Linked DNA regions of Homo sapiens: region 2 is linked to region 1. Evidence: promoter capture Hi-C in human tissues and cell types (Jung and others, 2019). All regions are on one chromosome and are shown on one strand. The core of a region is centred on a gene start or on the middle of the fragment in contact, and the rest is flanking DNA. Distances in the headings are between cores, read along the strand shown.

What was found. The method cuts DNA at HindIII sites, captures the fragments that hold promoters and counts their contacts. A contact is called where the count stands out against the background at its distance.
Region 2: a contact is called between a fragment that was not itself captured here and the fragment with the promoter of WDR35 in region 1, in 2 of the 25 tissues and cell types used here (IMR-90 fibroblasts and aorta).

What each region holds. Positions count from the first base shown.
Region 1 is chr2:19,988,353-19,994,291 of GRCh38, reverse strand. It overlaps WDR35 (WD repeat domain 35), which reads left to right and starts at 4,187. Exons shown (of 27, transcript NM_020779.4): 1 at 4,187-4,300; 2 at 5,010-5,127. The coding sequence starts at 4,277. WDR35-DT (WDR35 divergent transcript) reads right to left here and starts at 4,088. Exons shown (of 3, transcript NR_110235.1): 1 at 3,798-4,088. It overlaps MATN3 (matrilin 3), which reads left to right. Exons shown (of 8, transcript NM_002381.5): 8 at 1,126-2,240. The coding sequence ends at 1,181. RefSeq lists a silencer at 3,967-4,046 and enhancers at 4,207-4,256, 3,887-4,390, 4,407-4,456. The HindIII fragment of the contact is 18,147 bases long and covers 1-5,939 here.
Region 2 is chr2:20,268,554-20,273,793 of GRCh38, reverse strand. The region is part of intron 13 of PUM2 (pumilio RNA binding family member 2); the gene reads left to right. Among named protein-coding and RNA genes, the nearest start is that of SDC1, 46 kb to the right of the region's middle. The HindIII fragment of the contact is 7,481 bases long and covers 1-5,240 here.

The sequences.
Region 1 (5,939 bases), core at 2,938-5,437:
TTCTGGAAGGTTTTCTCCTTCTGCCTGGAGCCAACCAAGGTACTACGATCGAGCCAAACACTTTAAGACATTCCACAGGCAAGTGACTTATTTGTTAGGTTTTAATATGAGCAGTGGTAATATACAACTTTAAAAAATTTAGAGTTCTTTTCTAATGGTTTAATAGACTGTTTCACCCATTCAATATTTACATGTAAAAGCTGCCTATTTTGTCCCCTAGTGCTTTTCCATAACTGTATATGCTCCTAATGATGCTCTTACATAACAGATGGAACATTTATGCTAATGACTCCTTAATATGGCTTTCTTAGTTCAGAATCTGAACATGTACAAAGCAAGTCAGCTGATTAATGGGGTGTGATATCTCAGATTACACACAGTTGTACCCTTTGACTAGCCAAGTGGTCAAAAAGCAGATTTTAAAATGTAACATGATACAATCTCAGAAACTTTCAAAATCAGTTCTTTCTTCAAAGGAGTAACTAGGGAAAAGTTTCTCAGAACAGTTCAAGTTAACAACTCTGTTCCTATGTACCCCAGAGGAGTGGAATTTAGATTGTGGTAGGTACAATCTAGGCGTATGTAGAGACTTTTAAGGGAGGTACAGATAATTGGAAAGAATCAATTTCCAAATCCTTCACTTGCTTAAGACACTACTTGGAATCAGCTGGCATTTTCTTTTCCCGTCTCTCATTTCCATATCACCATTCTCCTAACTTCACACAAGAAAGGCATACTTCTCATTTACCCTAGATCTACTAAGGTGCATTTGTTAGAACAGCAGAATCTTGAGATAGCCAAACAAAGGGACAATCCAACTATCCCTTTAATCAATACTTCATAAACACTGCTTCCCCCATCCCTCACACTAAGATGCTACTCCAATTACATTTTATATGAACAAAAACATCTGAAGACCACTGCAGGGGTCTACTTTTATTGTGCTCTCTGAAGAACAGGATTTTTGACTTTTAGACTGAATTCAACTTTTGGTGAGAAAACAGTTTTGCTCTTTTTTTTCACTTCTCATAGGACATAATTATTTTATCTTGTGAAGTGTTTGAAAGTGTGTTTATATTTTCTAATGTGTAAAAATAAATGGTGTTGGCCTTAACAACTTGCCACTTGATGACATTTTGGAGAAGTTGAAAATAAATGAATATGGACAAATACATCGTTAAATTGCTCCAATTTCTCACCTGAAAATGTGGACAGCTTGGTGTACTTAATACTCATGCATTCTTTTGCACACCTGTTATTGCCAATGTTCCTGCTAATAATTTGCCATTATCTGTATTAATGCTTGAATATTACTGGATAAATTGTATGAAGATCTTCTGCAGAATCAGCATGATTCTTCCAAGGAAATACATATGCAGATACTTATTAAGAGCAAACTTTAGTGTCTCTAAGTTATGACTGTGAAATGATTGGTAGGAAATAGAATGAAAAGTTTAGTGTTTCTTTATCTACTAATTGAGCCATTTAATTTTTAAATGTTTATATTAGATAACCATATTCACAATGGAAACTTTAGGTCTAGTTTCTTTTGATAGTATTTATAATATAAATCAATCTTATTACTGAGAGTGCAAATTGTACAAGGTATTTACACATACAACTTCATATAACTGAGATGAATGTAATTTTGAACTGTTTAACACTTTTTGTTTTTTGCTTATTTTGTTGGAGTATTATTGAAGATGTGATCAATAGATTGTAATACACATATCTAAAAATAGTTAACACAGATCAAGTGAACATTACATTGCCATTTTTAATTCATTCTGGTCTTTGAAAGAAATGTACTACTAAAGAGCACTAGTTGTGAATTTAGGGTGTTAAACTTTTTACCAAGTACAAAAATCCCAAATTCACTTTATTATTTTGCTTCAGGATCCAAGTGACAAAGTTATATATTTATAAAATTGCTATAAATCGACAAAATCTAATGTTGTCTTTTTAATGTTAGTGATCCACCTGCCTCAGCCTCCCAAAGTGCTGGGATTACAGGCTTGAAAGTCTAACTTTTTTTTACTTATATATTTGATACATATAATTCTTTTGGCTTTGAAACTTGCAACTTTGAGAACAAAACAGTCCTTTAAATTTTGCACTGCTCAATTCTGTTTTTCGTTTGCATTGTCTTTAATATAATAAAAGTTATTACCTTTACATATTATCATGTCTATTTTTGATGACTCATCAATTTTGTCTATTAAAGATATTTCTTTAAATTATACTGAATTAACAGTTATTTTGATATTCAACAGTTTCTTATCAAAAGACAGAAGTTTGATTCTCCTCCTATAGTTTAATCTCACACTCCTGAGGCTAAAAGTGTAAGTTCAGGTTCAAAAGAAAGGCTTCAATATAAAATTATCTAAATTTGGATAAAATAATGATGAGCTTTACATTAATATAAGCTCCTGAGAAGCAAATATATCCTACAGATGTAAATATAAAATATAAACTTTAAGGAAGGAACAAAAACTAAATATACCAAGGAAATATATAAAGCATCTCTTACTTTTCAAAAATTTTGAAAGGGTATGACATAGAGCTACAGTAGTATTTTCCAGACTTTTTTGAGCCCAAAATCAGTAATACATATTAATATACCACAGAGAAATGGTGGTATAGAAGGAATAAATGAGAGTTCATGTGCAAGAAGGGAAAGATAAAGAGAGGTGAGTTTTCAGGTGTCACCATCAGTAACTAGCTTCAACTAATTATGTCTTGACCAGTTTATTGGAAACTCCTGGGTTAGATAATACTAATTTGTCTCATGCGTCCAGTATAGGGAGCCTATGGACAGGGGCCAATGTATCTTAAACAGACACACAAACAATGGAAAGCAAACATTATCTGAATGGGATTGGGTTAAGTTTGGAAAGAATTCCTCATGGAGACTGATTTGTGCTGGTTTGGCTAGGCACAACTGGCCTGTTAAGAGGGTAGGACCATATATAAAGTGGCTTGGGAAGCAGAGCCGGATGGAATGTTGCCCTGCAGAAAGCATATTGGCTTACTTGAGGTGGGGGCTCCCTAGTAAAAACATTTAGGATTGAGGGAAGATCTGATTTTGGATGGAGTTTAGATTTGCTAGGAAAGGCACTAGGGACTATTGTCAATTCTATAATAGATTGTGCTGGGTGAGACAAATCACCCAGGTCAAAGGATTGGAGGATTTTTATTTTATTTTTGTCTGAGATGGGAAAAGACTCCAAGTGGGGAAATTAACTACTGATGCATAAATTACATGCTAGATTATGGTAAAAGGGAAAACCAGAAATAAAAACATAGGTGAGACCAAATAATTTCATGAGTGGTTCTACTTGGATTTCTGCCCTATGCCTTAGACTTTGAGGCTTTGTAACTCTCAAGCATTCCAAAAGGACAAAGGAGAATGAAGAAAGAAGGTAAGAAAAAGAAGAGAATATGTAACAGTCGACTCTAGACGAGAAAACACCAAACGCTCAAATATTTGTAAAATGGGAGGCCATGCCCCAATAGCAATTGTACGCTGTAATTACCCAACGTTTACAGAAATTCCTTTAAAAGGACCCTCGGGGTTGCGGTAATAATTAAACTGTTAAAAAATATCAAAACAAGCGGAATAAACAAAATCTTCTATTCCTAAATTGCTCTAGAGGTTCTCCAATCCCCAAAGACACAGAGAAGGGTTGTAAGATCTCAGTACGCACATTTGCACTTTCATCTGGCCAGTGGCGCCAGCCTATCAAATACAGTAAATGGCTTTTCCCTTTCAAGAATGTTGGAACTTTGGAACTTACAAAATACTAAATAATTTGCCCTTATTCGAACGGGCGCCTCTCCTCTTAGGTTTATAGTAATGCCACCTGAGGCGCGGCTCCATAGCGATCATCACAGGTGTGGCGGGAGGGAGGGCGGCAGTGACCACGAGACGGGGCGCAGAGGGCGAGCGCACGGCTGGCAGTGACAGGTCGCGACCCAGCTCCTTGCGGAGAGCAGAAAGGCCCAGACGCCAGGGAACAGGACTAGCCCAGCTACCGCCTCGCGCCTCGCGCCCTGCGCCCACAAACCCATCGACGTCCGCGCAGGCGCACTACGCCGGTGCCCGGTGCGAGGGCGTCACCGGAAGTGTCCCGCGGCGCCCCGGATGCGACCGGGCAACAGCGGTTGCCAGGGCGACGGGAGCTTTCCGGAGCTGCTGGTACTCCCGATTGGAGACGTAGAACCGTTACTTGTCGAGGGCCTTAGCGGCCGCCGTGACCCTCTCGGGGATCCCACGATGTTCTTCTACCTGAGCAAGAAAGTGAGTTTCCTGGGGGGCGTCCTCGTTTCTCCGCCATTCCCGCAGCCTGCGGCGATTCCCGCTGCCTTCCCGAGAAGCCAGGCTCCTTCACCCGGTCCTGGTCGTGGCTTCGCCATTCCGCAGCCATCCTTCCCGCCGGGTCCAGCCTCCGACCTCTTCCTGCGGTTCCCAGAGCCTCAGTCTTTGGCCGAGCTTGCTGCCCTCTCGCAGCACTCTCCCATTCCTGCCCCTGGCTAGGTCCTTTTGGGTGGCTTGAGGATAAGTCGCCACGTGCTACCCTATGTTTCCTCCTCCACTTGTTGCTGATCCACGTGATTTAAACTCTTTGGATCACCACGAGCCATTGGGCAAGAGAAAAGAAATAACAATAGGATAGCCTAAGTTGTAGGTAAAAAGGAAGAGGGACTGGTGGTATGGATTTATACCCTCTCCCCGTCCTCCCTTTAAAAAATCCATCCGGTGAGACTCTGGCGTTGGCTTCCTCCGCAGTCACTATCCTTCTCTTTTGTGCACTTCTTTCCCTCTTTCCCAAATGCTAGAGCCCGGGTCAGTTCAGGGGACCATGCCCATTTTCACAACAGCTCATTTTTTTTCTGCAAGGCCGTTCGTTTTTCTTCTTGGAAGATTTTCTTCAGCTTTCATCTCCTGCAGACTTACTTCCCAGCTCCTTCGTGAAAAGTTGCTAGTGCGGCTGTGGTTGCTTTTTCAGATTTCCATTCCCAATAACGTGAAGCTGCAGTGTGTATCCTGGAACAAGGAACAAGGGTTCATAGCATGCGGTGGTGAAGATGGATTACTGAAAGTTTTGAAATTAGAGACGCAGACAGGTAAATGAATGCAAGCCCACATGTTTGGTAGTAAATTGGCTAATGTTATTTGTTCAGTGCGGTCTACTCATGTTATCTGTCAATATGCAGTTCTGATTATTTTAAAGGGAAAACTACCAAAACATTTTATGGTGTTTTTCTGGAGTATATTTGCAATAAAGTTCAGAGAATGTTGAATGTAAACATCGGATGGTTTTTGCTGAGTTATTAATGGAAAATGAAAAATAATGAAGAATGAAAATAAGTCACTGTGTTATGCTATGTCTAATTATTGTACTATATTATTAGGAGTCTAAAAGAAATCCTGTGAGTCAACATTTCACTAAGAAAATCTGGCAGATTGTTTACAGGTCTGTGTCATCCTTTCTGCTTATCAGATGCATTAATGGTTATTCACCTAGTGTCCAAGAACAGAAAATGGGATACGTTTTACATTTCTATTAGTAGGTCTCTTGTCTTTGCTGCTTGATTTCTTTCTTTATCTAGTTCTCTGGAATCACAGCAAACAGCTTCCCACTTCTTAGCCCCCCTAGATTGAAGACCTAGATAAGGTAATTGGAGTTAAATCTCAGCTCTTCCACAAGACTACTGAATGACTTTCAACAAGTTAGCTGAGGATCTTACTACTTTAGTTTAGTCTTCCATAAAATGAAAATGTAGGGGGTTAAACTGCATTACATTTTTGGATTCCTTACAACATAGCTTCTCAAACTGTATTAGGTATAAGAATCACTGGAAGAGGTTGTTAAGATGGATTTCATGCTCTACCCCCACACAATAGACCCGGGATGGGGCCTGAGAATTTCCATTTC
Region 2 (5,240 bases), core at 2,032-4,531, 280 kb before region 1:
AAGAATACTTGTTAATCTAAGGCAGGCAATTTAGGGACTGTGTATAGAGCAGCACACCCGACTCTCAACAGAATCTTACTTACAGGTTCTCATGTTAATATAAATTGAAAAACAGCTACAACCCTCTGGTAGACCTAGAAGTAATTTATTTGCTGATGAGTAGGAAATAATGTTTTGAAGAAATTACGTTACTAGTTGTATGGAAGAATTTGTGATGTTTGGTTTTCTGTATAAAAATGTCTTGATCTTGGTTGTACTTGTTTTAGATTACTAATTTTTTATTTATTATCCTTTAATAACATTATCAGTGACATTGTGGTTCTAATGTCTGAGAAAGTTTTCACCAGTTAATTTACTTAGTTAAGATAATCACAAACTGAAGACTAGAAAATACTTGATCCCATCCTGTGTTTTGGCATCAGAATCACTCTGGCCACTTGTTTAAAATGCCTCGTAGTAGACTTCACAAGGATGTGAACAGTTTGCAAATGTGCGGCAACAGGGTTTGCTCGTTACAATGATTGTGGGGATTCTATTGGCATTAAATGCCTGGTAGCCAGATGTTATACTTTGCATAGTCAGCACAAAAATAGTTTCGTCCCACTGAAATTTTCAGTAGCCTCCACATGAAAACACTGACTTGAAATAATTTGTAGCTGGCAGAGATTATTTTAATCTACCAAGAATTCACCTGTAATTTACACCATCCCACCATGCTTATAAGGTACCCTAAGGATCAAAAGGTAGCCTTTAAAATACAGGCAGATGTGCTTCATGAGAGATTTGCAGTGTTAGCCAAATAACATAAAAATGAAAGTAGCATATATCTCTTAGAATGGCTTTGAAAAGTTGTTTCTTATATGTAGAGAATATTTTCACTGGAGTTGGTTTTGTTGTGATATATCTAGGAATGGATCCAGCAGAAGAAGTGCAAGATCTTTTACATTATAAACTATAAAATGCTGATGGAAGTTACAGATGACTTAAATAAATGGAAGGACATACCATATTTTAGGTTGAAAGACTCCCTATTATAAAGATACCAGCTTTCTTCTAGTTGGTCTAAAGATTGAACGCTATCAATAAAATTAGGTTTTAAAAAGAAATTGATAAGCTGATGCAAAAAATGAAAATGGAAAAGCAGAACCAAAAGTAGTGAAGACAGTTTTGAAAAGCAAAGTTAGAAAACTTAATACTGCTGGATACCAGAACTTAGAAAGCTACAGTAACTAAAACTACGGTATTGGCACAAGGATAAATAAATAGAACAGCGGAACAGAGTAGTGCATCCAGAAATAGACCTACTCATTTAGATACCTAATGACCAAGTTGCCACTCCAGTGTATATGAGAAAAACAGGTGTTTCAGTGACTTGGGCAGGAGTAGTTGAATATCCAAATGAGGGGGAATGAACTTTGACTTCTGTTTCACACCACACATACACATATGCACACAAACACGCTTTATTCTCAAAGAAATTACGTGACTTATATTCATGAAGTTAGTAAGAGGCAGAACCAAAATTTTGAGCCCACGTTTATCTGGCTTCTTCCAGATGTTGTACTGCTTCTCAAAGGATGCTTTTCTATTTATTTATTTATTTATTCATTCATTCATTCATTCATTCATTCATTCATTTGACGAAGTCTTGCTCTGCCCCCCAGGCTGGAGTGCAATGGTGCGATTTCAGCTCACTGCAGCCTGTCTCCCAGGTTCAAGCGATTCTCCTGCCTCAGCCTCCTGAGTAGTGGGGATTACAGGCGCCTGCCAGCACGCCCAGCTAATTTCTGTATTTTTAGTAGAGACGGGTTTTCACCATGTTGGTCAGGCTGGTCTTGAACTCCTGACCTCAGGTGATCCACTTGCCTCGGTCTCCCAAAGTGCTGGGATTACAGGTGTGAGCCACCATGCCTGGTCAGGATGCTTTTATTTCTAATACCTATCCGAATAAATTAAAAGGACCATGTTTCCTATGTTTCACATCTTTGTAAACTTTTTATAAAATTGTAGTAAAATATAATTTAACCTATTGTGACTTTGTGGAAAAAGTGAGTTTGAATGTCAGTGTTATTGGCTTTTTTGGGTTTTTCACTTGCTAACAATTGATCTTTAATCCAAATTAAATGCTATTTACTTTAAGGGTCTTTTAAATATTTCATTACTAATTTTAAGTTAAAACTGATCATGTACAGTGGCTCATGCTTGTAATCCCAGCATTTTGGGAGGCTGAGGCGGGAGTATTGCTTGAGCTCAGGAGTTCGAGACCAGCCTGGGCAATGTGGCGAAACCCCGTCTCTATTAAAAATACAAAAATTAGCCGGGTGCGGTGACATGTGCCTGTAGTCCCAGCCACTTGAGAAGCTGAAGTGGGAGAATCGCTTGAACCCAGGAGACGGAGGTTGCAGTAAGCCGACGTTATGCCACTGCATTCCAGCCTGGGCATGACAGATCGAGACCCTGTCTCAGAAAAACAGAAAAGAATCTTGTTTGTAATACTTTAAAATACTGTAAATAGTATATAAATAGCAAGTTTTGTTTTTATTTCTAATTACTGAAAGTAATTGCTATTTTATCTTTTCTATAGTTTTATTAGACTCCTTTTTAGAATTATGTGATTAAAATTGTTACTTATTCAATATTGAATATCTGTGTTCAATACAATATTGAAGCCAGCCTCTGCTTGACTAGGAGAAAAAAACATCCTTATTCACTGTCATCGAGTTTGTAGCTTTGTGGTAAATACAGATAAAAACAGCAGTTACAATATAATGATTGTAATGTTCTTGTCTTATTTCACTTTATTTCATAATCTTATTCTGTAGAAACATAGTGATTTCATTGGAATTATTTTCCTTTATGGGTTTTTTGAACCAAAATTAGCACACATTGGATTATAATGGAATTGTTTCTAGGTTTATTTTCTCCACTAGATTAGAAACAAGAAAGCCCAGGCCTTTTTCTACAACTAAAAATACTCAGATTTCATTGAATGTTTGGGTAATTGAATTTGAGTGGTTTTGTTTCTTTGTTTTATTGATGAATTTATTATTGAGTAAGGACACTTCCTTTTTAAAAATTACTTGGTATCCTACATAGATTACTATATTAAAGCATTATTTGGCTGTTCTCAATCAGTGTTTTCTTTGTTCAGTGTGCCAAGATCATACTCTTTAGAACATTGCATTATGAAAATGAAGTTTTGACAGTCAGTTGTGGAGTTTTTGTTTTGTGTGTGTGTGTGTTTATTTGTTTTTTACCTTCCCAGTTCTTCAGCCCTCTTCCCACCACCACAATGACCCCATCAAGAGAGACAATAAATGTACCCATAATGTTTGTGTAGGATCAGAATTTATTCCAGTATTCACAGCTTTTGAAGCAAGCTTTAAGATTGCATAAATCCTTAGTAATCATGGTTTAAGAGAAACAATCCCAGCTCCTATAATTTTTCTTCACTCCAATCAGAAAGGCAACTGGCCATGAAATCTCAGCTGGAATATTTAAAAGGAAATTCAGATATGGCTTGCTCGTTTGTTAACTTATTACCAAATGTATTAACCAAAGGAAAGAATTTAGGCCAAATCTGACAGGGTCATATGACATATGCAGGGAAAAGCCAACAGGTTCCTATTAGGCTACTCGAACTCATCCTACTACTACTACTCTTTTGCGGGGTTAGGGGTAGGTTTTTTAAAATGTTCTTGTGTCCATCAGTCACAAGAGGAGGTAGTTTTCACTAAAGATAAAAAATTGAGGCAACTTTTGGAACTATACATTACCCCCTTTTGATAGGGTAATGGAAATTGACAGGGTGGGTTATTGATGGAAATGATGTCATAACTAGTCTGAAGACTATGTTATGTTAACTAAGTATGTTATTACTTAGTCTGTTTAAATTCCCCTTGATGAATGAGGGAAGATTGTTAAATACCTTGTATGGTGATAGTCTGCCCTTTATTTTTTTAAGTTTAACCAGTAAAGACTATAATAAAAGGTAAGATTTTTAAAAATTGCTGATAGAAAAGAATCACAAGCAATAGAAACGGAAACAACAGATTTTTATTTTGTATTTTAGAACACTTGGCTTGTAATTTGCATCTAATGTTTGCTTGCATATTGTCATAAAATTAACAGTTTTAAGGTAGTACGTTTGACATGTGTGTATTTTTATAACAGCCTATTAAAATGATGTGGAAGATTATACTTTTAAATATGCCCACTTTGTTTTTTTAAACTCATTGTAGTCTTAGTCTTTCCTCCAATAAAATTGTTGTGTCTTTATATGGCAAATGTATAGTTATTATAAGCATTCTCACGCATGTGATCCCAGCACTTTGGGAGGCCAAGGCAGGTGGATCACGAGGTCAGGAGATCAAGACCATCCTGACTAACATGGTGAAACCCTGTCTCTACTAAAAATAAAAAAAAATTAGCCGGGCGTGGTGGCGGGTGCCTGTAGTCCCAGCTACTCGGGAGGCTGAGGCAGGAGAATGGCGTGAACCTGGGAGGCGGAGCTTGCAGTAAGCTGAGACCGTGCCACTGCACTCCAGCCTGGGTGACAGAGTGGCACTCCGTCTCAAAAATAATAATAATTATTATTATTATTAAAATTTTATTCAGTTTATACCTCATGTAGCTTCAGTCATTTTGCAGACTTAAGAATGGCATGTGAGATTAAACATTCTCTAGGAAGCATAGCAGAGTATGACTGACAACTTTACATGAATTTTTTAGACATAATGGTAAACAAAAATTCAGCCTAATTATTAGCTGTGCTTTCTTGGATAAGTTATTTAGATTCTCTAAGCTGTTGTCTCACAAGTAAAATGGAGATATGTCTGCCTCATAGGCTATTAAGAGGATAGCATTCTCATACAGCAGTGTTACAAATGATGTATCATAAAATAATAGTCCAACCACCTGCCACATTTCAGAAACAAAAAAAGATTTATACTTTACATGCAATAGACATACAAAAAATTTTAAATTCTGAGGGAAAAAAATGAAAATGCCCCACACATTTGAGTCATTTATATATTAATCTGGAAAGAAATGCTATCTTTCTGTAACTTCTGTTTTATATTTTTATTTCAGCATTCACCCTGTGTGCATGAGCTGTATTAAATGTATCTGACATACATATATATATATATATTTTGTTTGTTTTGTTTTGTTTGTTTAGACAGGGTCTTGCTCTATTGCCCAAGCTAGAGTGCAGTGGTGCAGTCTCTGCTCACTGTAAC